2 separate regions of the Homo sapiens genome follow, and region 1 is linked to region 2. Evidence: promoter capture Hi-C in 16 types of primary human blood cells and fetal thymus (Javierre and others, 2016). All regions are on one chromosome and are shown on one strand. Each heading gives the region's core, a stretch centred on a gene start or on the middle of the fragment in contact. The rest is flanking DNA. Distances are from core to core; before and after follow the strand shown. Region 1 overlaps LINC01727 (long intergenic non-protein coding RNA 1727). Region 2 holds the start of XRN2 (5'-3' exoribonuclease 2).

Evidence for each region. The method cuts DNA at HindIII sites, captures the fragments that hold promoters and counts their contacts. A CHiCAGO score of 5 or more calls a contact.
Region 1: a fragment that was not itself captured here is called in contact with the fragment with the promoter of XRN2 in region 2 in 1 of 17 cell types (naive CD4 T cells); the score reaches 5.4 in naive CD4 T cells.

Annotation. Positions count from the first base shown.
Region 1 is chr20:21,573,438-21,579,858 of GRCh38, reverse strand. The region is part of intron 1 of LINC01727 (long intergenic non-protein coding RNA 1727); the gene reads right to left. Among named protein-coding and RNA genes, the nearest start is that of LINC01727, 6.6 kb to the right of the region's middle. RefSeq lists an enhancer at 5,107-5,607. The HindIII fragment of the contact is 2,923 bases long and covers 3,636-6,421 here.
Region 2 is chr20:21,297,880-21,304,580 of GRCh38, reverse strand. XRN2 (5'-3' exoribonuclease 2) reads right to left here and starts at 1,250. Exons shown (of 30, transcript NM_012255.5): 1 at 1,108-1,250. The coding sequence starts at 1,182. RefSeq lists an enhancer at 653-702 and a silencer at 1,423-1,552. The HindIII fragment of the contact is 6,284 bases long and covers 1-6,131 here.

The sequences.
Region 1 (6,421 bases), core at 3,848-6,347, 270 kb before region 2:
TCCACAGACTTCAGCTAGAGAGTCCCAGCTGGATCCTTCACTAGCTTAGGGATCTCCGTCTCCTCCCCTGTAAAATGGGGGCAAGAACCACTCCTGCCTCTCCCAATCACTGAAAGGGTTACACGAATGAGGTCCTGCACACATAAAACCTCTAGGCCCATACTGGGTCTATAGTAACCAGAAAACACAGATTGTTATTTTCCAAAAATACAAAGCTTAAGTGCAATTCATGCACAAGGATGCACTGTTGTCACTCAGAAGACACTTTATAATGTCGAGAGAGCGGCGGTGCTCGTCTTTTGAAATCTGTTTTGCTCTCTACTCACATTTCAAGCTGCATAAAAAGTGTCCTTTCTGGTATCCCTGGTGCCTTAGGTCATGTTGCTCGTCCACATAAAAGCCCATTCGAGAATCATTATCACCCAAGCAGCTTCCAGATTGGCGGCTTATCACTTCTGAAGGGTCCCAAGGCGGCCATGGAGAAGTGCCCCAAAGCCTTGTTTGCTTCCTTGGGCCAAAGGTCCACCTGTGGTAATTAGCGAGATTGGTCCTGGACCAGACTCAGCTGGTGTAGCCACAAGACCAAATGATGCCCTTCAACATGCTGCATGGAAAAAGTGTCTCTCTGATTATCTGCTCCCAGATCTGAAAAGCTACCTTCTGTGAGCTCAGTGGAAAACTCCAATTCATTAACTGATTTCAACAGAAAAAGACAATCTCAAAAGGCTTGTTGACAACCACTGTAGCCATGGTGTAACCTTAACCTTATCTTTCATTATTCCGCTTTTATGAGGAAAAGAAAAAAAGGCGTTTGTTTTCATGGACATAACCTCACAGAAAGCTTTCATACACAAGATGCACAAGATGAAAAAAATACACTTATTGGAGAACGCTCGATATATTTGAAAGTGCTAGGAACATCTTCATTCTCTCTGTAGAAGTCACATTTCCTTTAGGATTGTGTAGCCTCAGATATAAAAATGTTGTTAATTCAATTCATGTGAACCCTTATAATATCCCACTGAAGGTAGACTTTATAACTGACTGCAGCTCAACCCTGCTCTCAATATAGACAAGACTCACCCACGTAGCAGAACTTTCTTCAAACAGAAATATGAGGCAGACAATGTTAATGGGTCCAAGCAACAACACATGGAATGGACAGGCAGTGGGCAAGGGGGTCACCTGCACCTGCCGTCAGCCCCTCACCTGTATCCCAGCTGACCAGGCACCTAGGAACATAGCAGCTCATGTTTATTATGCCTATTTCATTTGGCTTGCACAATGGTTAGGGATTTTTGAATTTTTAGTTAGCTGCTTATATTTTTAAATCCTGACATTTCTGATTAAAAAAAAAAAAAACCTGGATTTCCAGCTTTCTCATGAAATATCAGGAACTCTGACAAAATGGAGTCCCAGAGGTAGCACTAAGGGAAGACATAGGAAGCCCTAGACACCCCAGTGCCCTTCAGCACCCCAAATTCACCCTCCAAATAAACAGAAAATCTCAGTCTGCAACCCCCTCTTCCAGAGACATCCCTGGCCACACTCACACAGATGCCACTATGGGCCCCTCCCAAGAAAAATTGATGAGGCCCCAACCCCTACCAAGCTTGCAGGAGGAAAGGAGCTGCAGCCTCCTTTGGACAAGGCCAGTGACCTCTGTTCCACCTGAGTCACCACCAGACCCTGGCACTGCCCACCTGACCCCTGGGAGGAATCACTTTTGAGACCTGGACCACGATGAATGAACAAACTGGAAAAGGACATTGTTTTTAAATGGCAATTAACTCAAGATGCAAACAACCCTTATTATTTGTGGACTCCATATTTGCAAATTCAGCTAGTCGATAAAATTTATTTGTTATCCCAAAATCAATATTCCCAGCAATTTCCTGGTCATTCAAAGACACTGGCAGAGTGGAGAGAAATTTGAGTCATCCAGTGCTAAGGAAGAACAAGATGACATCCTACTTTCTGGTTCCAGTTCTCATACTTGTTTGCAGTCAAACAAGCATCCTTTTTGTGGTCTATTTAGTGCCGTGATTTTCACATTTTTGTGGGGTTTCTTTGGTGATTTCACATTTATAATGGCCCTAGGCATCGTGCTACAGTGCTGGCTAGAGTTCCCAGGCACGAGAGGCTGTGAGGTGCCTTACAGAGGAAATCCATGTGCTAGAAAAGCTTCCTTCAGGCCTGAGTCACACCATTGCTGGTCCTGAGTTCAGTGCTAATGGATTCACACTATACCACCAACAAGGCATCTGTCAACAGAAACATACATAGAATGATGTTATGTACCGATCAGCTGACAAAACATGACCAGAGGCCAGCAGGAATCTAACCCTATGCTTCTCCTAGGAGCAACGATTCAGCGTCTACTAGTTCAGTGTTCGTGGCAGCTTTATAGAACACAACTATCATGAGTGATGAGGCTTTAAGTCATTGCTGCCACAGGGGGCCACCAAGAAAGGGTTTACAACAGAAGTGATTTCTCTATGTGGTTTCAGGGGTGCCAAGTTGCGGGGAGGATTCAATGAAAGGGTTAAGAGGAATGAACTGTTTCTTTTGACTCTGGGTACAGAAAGGAGCAGAAGTACCCCCTGGTCCCAGCCTTGGGGTCAACTTTGAGGCTGCCCTGCCCTTTGACTAGGGCCTCCTTTTCCCCTTCCTACCTATGCCAGGCCCTGTTTTGCTGTGTCTGGAACCCAGTGCAGAGCCCACCTCCCCGTGACTGGTGTTCCCTCCTTCCATGGATGGAGTCTGAAGAACCAGGTCTTTGCACCTACAGGAAGCCCCCAGATCAGAGCTGCCAGGGAAGTTCTGTGTCTGCAGAAGGGAGAGGCGCAGGAGTGAATAGATTGTTTTTTATGTCTTCAGGCTTTTTCAGCTTTCTCTTTTTAAAAGAGACTAACTCTGCATATAAAATGCATTATCTCTGTATACCTGCTAGCAAACAGCCTTCCTTAAACAAATCAACCTATCCAGGGCTAGAGTATACAGCTGCCCAGCCTGGGAACTGCACAATCCCAGGGAGGAAGAATGCTTTTCACATCAGAGTTTATATGCAGCACAGAGTCCTGACAGAGTGGGATATACTGTGAAGCTACATCTTCCATTGCATAATGTTCTCCTTTGGGAACGTGAATCTAAGTATCTGCCTTCCCCACCCAAGTCAGTGGGAAGTGGTTTCATTGGCCACCAGATTTCACAGATAATAAAATGGGAGTGTTTTCCCTTTCCTCCAGAAATACTTTTTATCACCAAGTCACCACCTTACTCCAACGTTTCTGGAACTCACTACTGTTTTTGTTGGTTTCCAAGCAGCAGCTGGAGACCTCCCTGGACCAACCAGCAGCTGGATGCAAACCCAACTCAGGTTAGAGCTTAACTCCAGCAAGCACAGCGCTGCCTCCTACAAGCCCCCACATAGCATTTGCCTCCAAAACTAGTTAGGCAGGATCCCATAGGCCTCCCTGTAACAATATCTCCATAGGAAGGAAGGAAGGAAGGAAGGAAGGAAGGAAGGAAGGAAGGAAGGAAGGAAGGAAGGAAGGAAGGAAGGAAGGAAGGAAGGTATCTGCCCCAAAGCTGTTCTTGACCTTTTTTTGAGTGACTTCACTTTATTTTAAGCTTTATGCAGAAAGTGCAATTGTATTAATATTTGTATCTTGCTATTTCATATTCACTGCAATTCAATGTGTAAAAGCTGCCACAGTGACACTAAGTGGTAAAGAGTTAGTGGTCTTCCCATCCACTAAGTGCATGGAACCAGAACAGAGCAGGGGCCTGAGCCCCACCGCCTGAGGCCAAGTTTCCATCCTTCTATGGACTTCTCTTCTCCCGTTTTTCTCATCATTAAAAGAGAGAGTGACCATGCCTATTTAAGAGGAAGGTTATAGAGATTAAGTGACATTATTCAACCTGTCTCAAGGGGCCACTGGGGAAAGTTTTCTATCTGTAATAATGGTGTTTCAGTAACCTCACAAGCTAAGAAAACCATCAATGTGGACAGATGAATCCTGAATTCATAAACAGCACCTTCCAGGTAGCAGGAAGGCAGGTGAAAGCTAGCTTCCCTCCAGGAACTCTTTGCTCATCCCACCTCTTTAATTAAATTCTTGGGCCAAGTGTAGTGGCTCAGGCCTATAACCCTAACACTTTGGGATACCAAGGCAGGAGGATCTCCTGAGGCTAAGAGTTTGGGACCAGCCTGGGCAACATAGTGAAGCCCCTGTCTTTACAAAATATTTTTTAAATTAACTAGGCAACTTAGGAGGCTGAGGCAGGAGGATTGCTTGAGCCCAGGCATTCGAGGCTGCAGTAAGCTATGATGGCACCACTGCACTCCAGCCTGGAAAATGCCTGAGCTATCTAGGTTATTAACCACCAACCAAAGGCTGAAATCCAATAGGTCTTTAGTTCTCTTTCTTTATTTCCCTCCAAAATGTGATGCAGCTTTTTCCCTGGGGCGCTGGAAGAAGCTAGGGCAGACAGATAACAGCAGTTGAAGGTGGAGATGCTGAAAAGCATGCTTGGCGTGGATGGAAATTTGGCCTCAGGCAGTGGGAATCAGGGAAGACCATTAACTCTTTACCACTTAGTGTCCCTGTGGTAACTTTTACATATTAAATTGCAGTGAATATGAAATAGCAAGATACAAATATTGATAAGATTGTACTTTCTTCATAAAACTTAAAATAACATTAAATCACTCCAAAAATTGTCAAGAACAGCTTTGGGCAGATTGCATTTTCTCTTTCTTCTTCTGTTAATTTTGCATGTTAATTTTCTTCTTAACTGTTTAACATGTGCTGCTATTTGATGATACAATTTTCAAGAGCAATGAGAGGCTGGGAAATGTTTCCTGGTGTGGCCACCACCTAGGAAGACAGTTGGTGCCACAAGAGCTTGTGTAGGGGAAGTTCATGGGCCCGAGGGTTGACCTGCTGGAGCGGGCAGCCGTGCACCCATGCCGGACTCAAGGAGGGCATCACACATGGAGGGGGCAACACAGGCCAGGATGTAAAGCTGGAAAAGTGCAGGGCATGTCCGGGGGCGTCCAGCTCAAGTGGCTGTTTGAGAATTGCTTGTGCTATCGGACGGAGAGGTCACGCACATTGGACGCGAGAGGATCGTGGGTCACAGTCTGGGAACCAGAGCACCAGAGCCCAAGGAGGGAGGACCACAACACCCAGGCCCCTTACCACGCTTATTCCAGCAAGGTAAAGTCCCTCTGGAATGGCTCATGCACCCGGCTTGTGGACAGGAGTGGGATGGCGTGGCTGAGACGGAGATAGGAGGGAAGCAAGGGGAATGGGAAGACAGCTGCCTTGGAGGCCACTCCCAAAGGAAGGAGAGCAGGATGAGAAAACCCCAAATCCACGTAATGCCCTAAAGTGCACTGGGGTCAGCTAAGGCGATGCAGATTGAGGAAGAGGCTCCGAGTCAGTAAGACCAGCACCTAAAATTCCTCTAAAGAAAGGCACTAAAACTCCAGGGCCCCTCATCAGTGTTTGAAAAGATATTTGGCTGCACTTATACTTTAACATGTCCCATAACGTGCCCTGAGATACCATTTTTCACTTATCCAGTTGGCAAATAACATAACGCTCAGTGACTCCGGTGCTGGTAGAGGTGAAGCAGAACACACAAGGGTACAAACTGGCAAGGCTTCCACAGACGGCAACTTGCAGTTCTTTTTAAAAAACCCTCTGAGACAGGAATTCCACTACCAGGACTGTATCCTACATGTGTCCCCACACATGCACATAATGACAGTTGTACAAGGCTACTCATTGTGGCACTGTTGTCATAGCAAAGATTGGAACCAACCAAGATGTCCTTCAGGTGCGGACTGCTTAAATAAATAACACCTCATCCACATAATGGAATGCCAGGCAGAGAGAATGAAGAAATCTGTTTCTTCCTAATGACATAATCTCCCATTATTTAATGAAGAAAAGGGGCAGGCTATGTATGTCAGGTACAATTATTGGTGGTTTTTGAAGGGAAAATGAGAAAGAGAAAGAAACTTTTTTTTTTCTTTTTGCTTATGCATGTACTATCTGTGGAAGGATACAGAAGACGCTGATTACTTTAGTTGGCTCTGCTGGGGAGAACGGAGCGGCTGGAAGACAGAAGAATAAGGAAGATGAGATCTAACACCTTTCTGTTGTTGTCGAATTTTGAACCAGATAGAAGTTTTATCTATTTTCTAAATAAATACAAAAACAAAAACCCCAGGCCCTGAATACAGCTTTAGGTGAAAACGGTGTTCCCAATTCCCACTCCTCACCCATACCCAGCCTCCTATCTCCCTCTCAGCCACGCCATCCCACACTTCCCACTCCTCATCCATATCCAGCCTCCTATCTCCCTCTCAGCCACGCCATCCCACACTTCCCACTCCTCATCCATA
Region 2 (6,701 bases), core at 1-2,500:
GTTAAAGGTGGAGAAATGGGATGAGAAGGGGTAGAGCAAGAACTGTTGCTTTTTGTTTAACCCACGTGCAAGTAAAGTTCAATAAAGTTCGATTAAAATTTTACAAAGGAAACAAGTATTCAATTTAGCAGTTGCTTTTTGAAAAAAACAAGAAATAGTGGGAATGTCACTAAGACAAGGCTTTTGGTTCCTCCTTGGATAGAAGCCAAGAAAGTTAAAAAAAAAAAAAAAAGCAGAAATAAGTTCACAGTGACAGGCAAGCACTGCCTTCAAAAACTAAGGAGTGAGGTACGCGTGATGTGCCTCTGAACGTTTCCAATCCAGAAATTCTAATTAAGAGCACAAAATCGAATCCGCATGGAATGACGAAAACAATAAAAACAAAACTCAATAATGGCCAAAAATCTACTTACGTATTAACTAACAACAAAAATTGTACTGCTCAAGTACATCCAGTAATCTTGAAATTTTCAACAAGCACCCACCCCGTTCAGTAGTCAGGGCACACAGAGAAGGGTAACTTCTCAGAATTCTATAGCGCTCATCCTGGACCTGACATACTGCTTTCAGCGTCCAATCTAACCAGAACAACAAATGGTCCTGAACACTAGGAGAAAACCTTTCCGGCACAATTGGTAAACAACGAAAAGGTCGCCGCCAGGGATTCCTTTACAAGGTTGTCAAAAAGCTGGCCTCCGAATCCGTGCATCCATAACCCGCTAGCTCAGCTGACCTGGCATGCATTGCTCAACAACAGCCTCTGAACCTCTTCCGAGACCCAAAATGCGCGGTCTGGAGAGGAAACAAAGCAGTGGGCGGGGCCTTCCGGTGCCGGGAAAAAGCGAGTAGGGGAGGAGCGACCCTCCTGCGAGTTCGGAACCCTATAGGCCCTTGCCCCGCCGAGGGTCCTGAATTCCTCGCCCCCGGGGTGCTGAATCCCACAGCCCGCGTCCCATCGCGTGTGGGGCTGCGACTGCTCGCGAGGCTGGCAGCAGGGCGCGAGCTCCGGCAAGGCTCCCCGGGGGCAGGCGGCGGAGCCCATGGGCCGCGGCCTAGACGTGCCGGGGGCCCGGGCTCGAGTGTGGCGGCCGCCTGGCGCCTCCTCACCTTCTCTTCCACGCAGTTGACTATGATGGACGGGTACTTGCGGCTGAGCCAGCGGAAGAACGCCGGGACTCCCATAGCGGCACACGGCTGGAGGCGGCGGCCGACCGGCTGACGAGCGTAACCAAAGAGACGGGAGCAGCGGCAGAGGGCACCAGCACTTCCTCCCACGTGCGCGCTGGAGAACGGAAGTGACGTCACGGCGCCGCCGCCGGGGAAGCTGGGAAGGAGGCTTCGCTGGATGAGGGAGCGGCGGAAAAGGGCCTTGCCGGGCTGTTTGTGGGAGGCGGAGTCCGGCGGCGGACCGGGTGGCGAAGGCTGCAGCTCGCCCTCGGTGGTCCCAGCCCCGGAGCGCGAGGCCGAGCGCGTCTGAGTTGCGGGGGCTCACGGGCGACTGCTCTGCCGGGGCTCCGCCGGGATCTCCCAGCCCCAGCCCTCCGGCTCCCTGGGCACAGAATCGCTGCGCTCTGCATGCCCGGGAGGAGGTCTCCCTTGCCCGTTTGGTCACCTCTTGTTTGGAAGAAAATGTCTTTTTTTGCCTCTATGCTCACCCGTCTCAATCTAGGGTAGAATCGAAGCATCCAAACTTACTCGTTACTTCCATTTCCTGGTTTCTCCTAGTTTTGTGCTGCAGTACGTACCTGGACTATCAAAAGGAGCATTTTAAAGCATTTTACAGTAATAATGGCTGCTTTGCACCAATAATTTGATTGTTATGCAAATAAATAATTATGATAGTTACCGAATGGAATCTAGCCGGTATTTAGCATCCAATACAATCTTCCAGCTACAATTACGGGTATAAAATAGTTGCTAATATGATTTTCCAGCATTTACTGAGCCTTTACAGTGTACCAAGACATTGACTAAGGGATTGTCCTATGTAATCTTCACTTGAACCTTGTGAGGGTACTGTTAGCACCCTCGTGTAAATGATAAGAAAGCCAAGTTACAGAGGAGTTAAGTCACTTATGCACATAGCTTCTGTTTCAGTTCAAGCAAAGGTCATTTTTAATCCATCCTTGTTCTAACACGATACTTTTATCTTTTGTTTTCTGGTGGTCCCAAACGAATTTTTTCCATATGAAAGGAGAGGTCTGGAAGAGGAGGTATATTTGTCCGTTTGCTCAAGCCTGGAAGTCTCCCTGAATCCCCTCTTGGTTTGACACACATCACACACGATGCTAAATGCTCACCTCATGAGGCCTCTGTGAAAGTATTTCGCCGAGTTACCTCACAGGCAGTATTTATTGCCCCCTCCTCTGTGGTCTGATGACTACTTTGTTTAAACTACTAGTGTGGAAATTAGAGAAATAGTCATCCCGTGTTTTACTTAAGGATAGCCAAAACTATTCCAAAGTATTATGTCTATGGTGAAATTCCTCCTTTTACCTGGAAGCAGCCCCTCTGGTTTCCCTGGGAGGTGCTGTTATAGGAACATGTACACCATAGGCAGTTCAGGGATAGACAGCTGGCCAAGTTGAGCCATTTAGAATCCTTAACCAGCATTTTGGCGGGTTGGGAGGGTTTATTGTTTTGTTTTTGTTTTTTCAGACGGAGTCTCAGTCATCCAGGCTGGAGTGCAGTGGCAAGATCCAGGCTCACTGCAACCTCCACCTCCCGGGTTCAAGCGATTCTCCTGCCTCAGCCTCCCGAGTAGCTGGGATTAGAGGCGCCTGCCATGACACCCCGCTGATTTTTGTGTTTTTAGTTGAGACAGGGTTTCACCATGTTGGCCAGGCTGGTCTCGAACTCCTAACCTCAGGTGATCTGCCCACCTCGGCCTTCCAGAGTGCTGGGATTACAGGTGTGAGCCACTGCACCCAGCCTTACCAGCATTTTTGAGCTTTGAACCATAAGAAATTTAAGACTGCATCTTTCCAGTGCGTGAACGCTAAAAGATAAGAATTGGGACTTGTTGCCAGTAGGCAATGAGAGAAGCAGGGTTAATTCCCTGGTTCCAGTTAAATCCCTCTCTTCCTGCAGTTTGATTAAGTCTGTCCTTTGATTCTGTGAGCCAAATTTTTTTTTTTTTTTTTTTTTAAGACAGAGTCTCACTCTGTTGCCAGGCTGGAGTGCAGTGGCACCATCTCGGTTCACTGCAACCTCCACCTCCCAGGTTCAAGCGATTCTCCTGCCTCAGCCTCCCAAGTAGCCGGGACTACCAATGTGCGCCACCACGCCCGGCTAATTTTTGTATTTTTAGTAGAGATGGGGTTTTACCATGTTGGCCAGGATGGTCTCAATCTCTTGACCTTGTGATCCGCCCGCCTTGGCCTCCCAAAGTGCTGGGATTCCAGGTGTGAGCCACCACTCCCAGCCAAAAGTTTCCTTTTGCCCTAAGCTGGCTTGGGCTAAATTCTTATCCCTTACAAAGGAAAGAGTCCAGTAACAAAATTTGGGGAGTGCAAGCTAATTCACCTGGGTGGTGAAATTGGTTTGCATAGAAGTACTAAAATTGGAGTTTTGGCACTCAGAGAAGGAGTGGGTAAAAGAGAGAAGAAACTTGAAAGGCGGCAGGAGGATATGGACTAAGTATTGTGACACTTTCCCTGGCCCAATGTGTCCAGTAAAGCCTGTCAGACTCAGGCTTGGTATGGGTTTTTCTTGTAGAAATCAAATAAAAAGTCTCCAGTTGGGGTCACTGTGGTTTGGAACCACCACGGGGTGGGCAACATAGCAGACCTCTAGAAGCAGAAGAGGTGAGAATTTATTAGTGTTGGAAATTAGCAGGGAGGCCAGGTGTGGTGGTTCACATCTGTAATCCTAGCAAATGGGGAGACTAAGACAGGAGGATCACTTGAGCCCAAGAGTTTAAGGCTGCAGTGAGCTATGATTGCACCACTGTGCTACAGCCTGGGTGACAGAGCGAGAAGCTATCTAAAAAAAAAAAAAAAAAAAAAAAGAAAATAAATTAGCAGAAATACTGAACCAGACTTTGGACTTATACAGGCAGAGAACCCAGAGGTTTTGAAACATTTTTGCCCAGATCTCAAAGGGAGAGAGGAAGGCCACAGCTAGTATCTGGATTACATTAATGTGAAAAACAATATGAAAAATATATAATATGTGGAAACTAGGATGTTTTTAAATATTCATCAATTCATTTTTAAGCCCCATTAACATTGTAATTATCATAGAAAAAAATTCTCAGTTTTTTTTTGCCTACTATTGGTCCTTCTACCAAGTGATTCCTTTCCTTCTTTATCCTTACAAAATTCATTGTGAATAACCTGATGTATTTAAAACAGTAATTGTGGCCATTTTGGGTTGAGATAAACATTTTTAATCAGTAGAGTAAAGCAGATTGCCCTCCATAATGTGAGTGGACCTCATTTCATCAGTTGAAGGCCTGAATAGAACAAAAAGTCTGGCCCCCAAGCAAGAGGGAATTCTCTAGCCAACTGCCTTGAGATGTAATCTGCCTCCTGAGTCCTGAATCTGCTGGCCTACACTGCAGATTTGGATTAGCCAGTCTGTATAGTTACGTGAGCCAAATCCTTATAATAAATGTCTTTGTATATGCCCACATGTTGATTCCATGTCTCTAGAGAACGCTGACAGCTACAGATTCTGGTACTAGAAGTGGTTCAAGCGGAACGGAATCTTAGGGATGCATTTTTGTAATTGGTTCTGAGGTTTCTGGAAGTGGTTCTCTAGTCTGATTAGATTAAAAACAGGAATGACTTTCCAGTAGTAAATAAAACACTTGATAGTCTATGGCATGATGAAGTAGTAGAATTACACAAAATATTACCAAAACTAAAAAGAAGCAGGATCTGGGTGACCATGCGTATGATACTTTATAACATATTTGCCAAAATAACAAGTATAATGAGATTGGTTGCCCCTAATGTTGCTGGACAAAGTGGGAAAAGAAAAGGATGAGCTCAGGGATTCAAATTCCCAGCTCAAGTATAACATAAGTGACCTGAAACTTTCTATTTCTGCCCTGAAAGAGACCCTTATCTCCTATAGCTGCAGAGCCAAGATTGTTAAAAATCAACTCCGAATCACATCCTGTAAGTGGCTGAATTAAAGTGCAGATTGAATTTTTGACTTTGCAGGTTGTCTACTTCTAAAGTGAGGGCATTGATTGGGAACGAATTGGATCCTGAAAGTTGGAATGGGGGCATATGGAAAGACCTTGATGGCACTGGGGACATTGAATTCATAAGTTCCAATGAGTCATCTTTGCCCGTAGAAGCATTTTCTCCACCCCAGTAGATATATCCTCTCCACCCCCACCTGAGGGAACTAACCTTTCATTGCTTAAGGAATCTATCATGACCTCACCTGATACAGTTGTCTCGCAAGACAATGCTGATTCTCCTCAGGACACACCCCCATTACCCCTCTTGGCTTCTAGAACTTTAACTAGACTCAAGTCCTAGCAGTCCCAAAAGGTGAGGCATGAAATGTGATCCATGAGGCATACTACACTCCAAAAGAACTACTTGAGTTTTCTTATTTAGTCAGAAATTCAGGGAATATGTGTGAGAATGGAAATTAAAGGTGTGGGATAAAGATGGAAGAAACATAAAATTGAATCAGGCTGAATATATTGATAGGGGCCGATTGAGCAAGATTTCTGCATTTAATGTTGCAACTCAGGGAGTTAGTGCTATAACTGATGGGTTGGTTGACTGAAACATGGACCAAAAGGTAGACCACAGTGAGTGAGTGAGAAATGCCAGGCCTACTTGGGTTTAATGTAGAGAAGAGAAAGCTCAGGGCTGGTTTACAGGTGGTTCTGCATGATGTGCAGGCACCACCTGAAAGTGGACACTGCAGCACTACAGCCCCTGAGACTGACCTTCCCTGAGCAAGAATGGATTCTGCCAGCAGATGCACCTCTTCCCTGGGTCTCCAGCCTGCTGGCCTACCCCATCAGATTTTGGACTCATCAAGCCCCCACAATCGTGTGAGCCAATTTCTTCAAATAAAACCTTCTCACATCCTATTGGTCCTGTTTTTCAGGAGAATTCTGACTAATGCATTTTCAAGATGCTTCACCTCTCTAAGCTTCAGTTTCTTCATCTGTAAAATGAGGATCATAGACTTCATAGGTTTTCTGTGAAAATTCAGTGATACCATGCCCAGTGCACAGGCCAAAACTTGCTAAGAACCAGGAAGTGATCACCATTGTATGGCTATCTGTTGTGCTCCACACTGTTTGCTTTGAAGAAGCCTCACAATTTTATTAGCATGTTCCACTTATTTTGGACAATTTAATAATCTAACAGGCCTCATTTTGCCACTCCCCAGCTAGTATTAACTTTCTTTTCTTCCTTCTTTCCTTCCTTCCTTCCTTCCTCTCTCTCTCTTTCTCTTTCTCTCTCTGTTTCTTTCTTTATTTCCTTCTTTCTTTCTTTTTCTTTCTCTCGTGCGTTCATTCTTTTTTCTTTTTCAGACAGGATCTTTCTCTGTAACCCAGGTGGAAGTGTAGTGGCGCAATGCAACCTCCATCTCCCAGACTCAAGCAATCCTCCCACCTCAGCCTCTCAAGTAGCTTGGACTACAGGCATGCCACCACACTGTTACGGTGTTAACTTTCTCATATTGACTCTGTCTTCATTTTCCCTCACTTATATTTC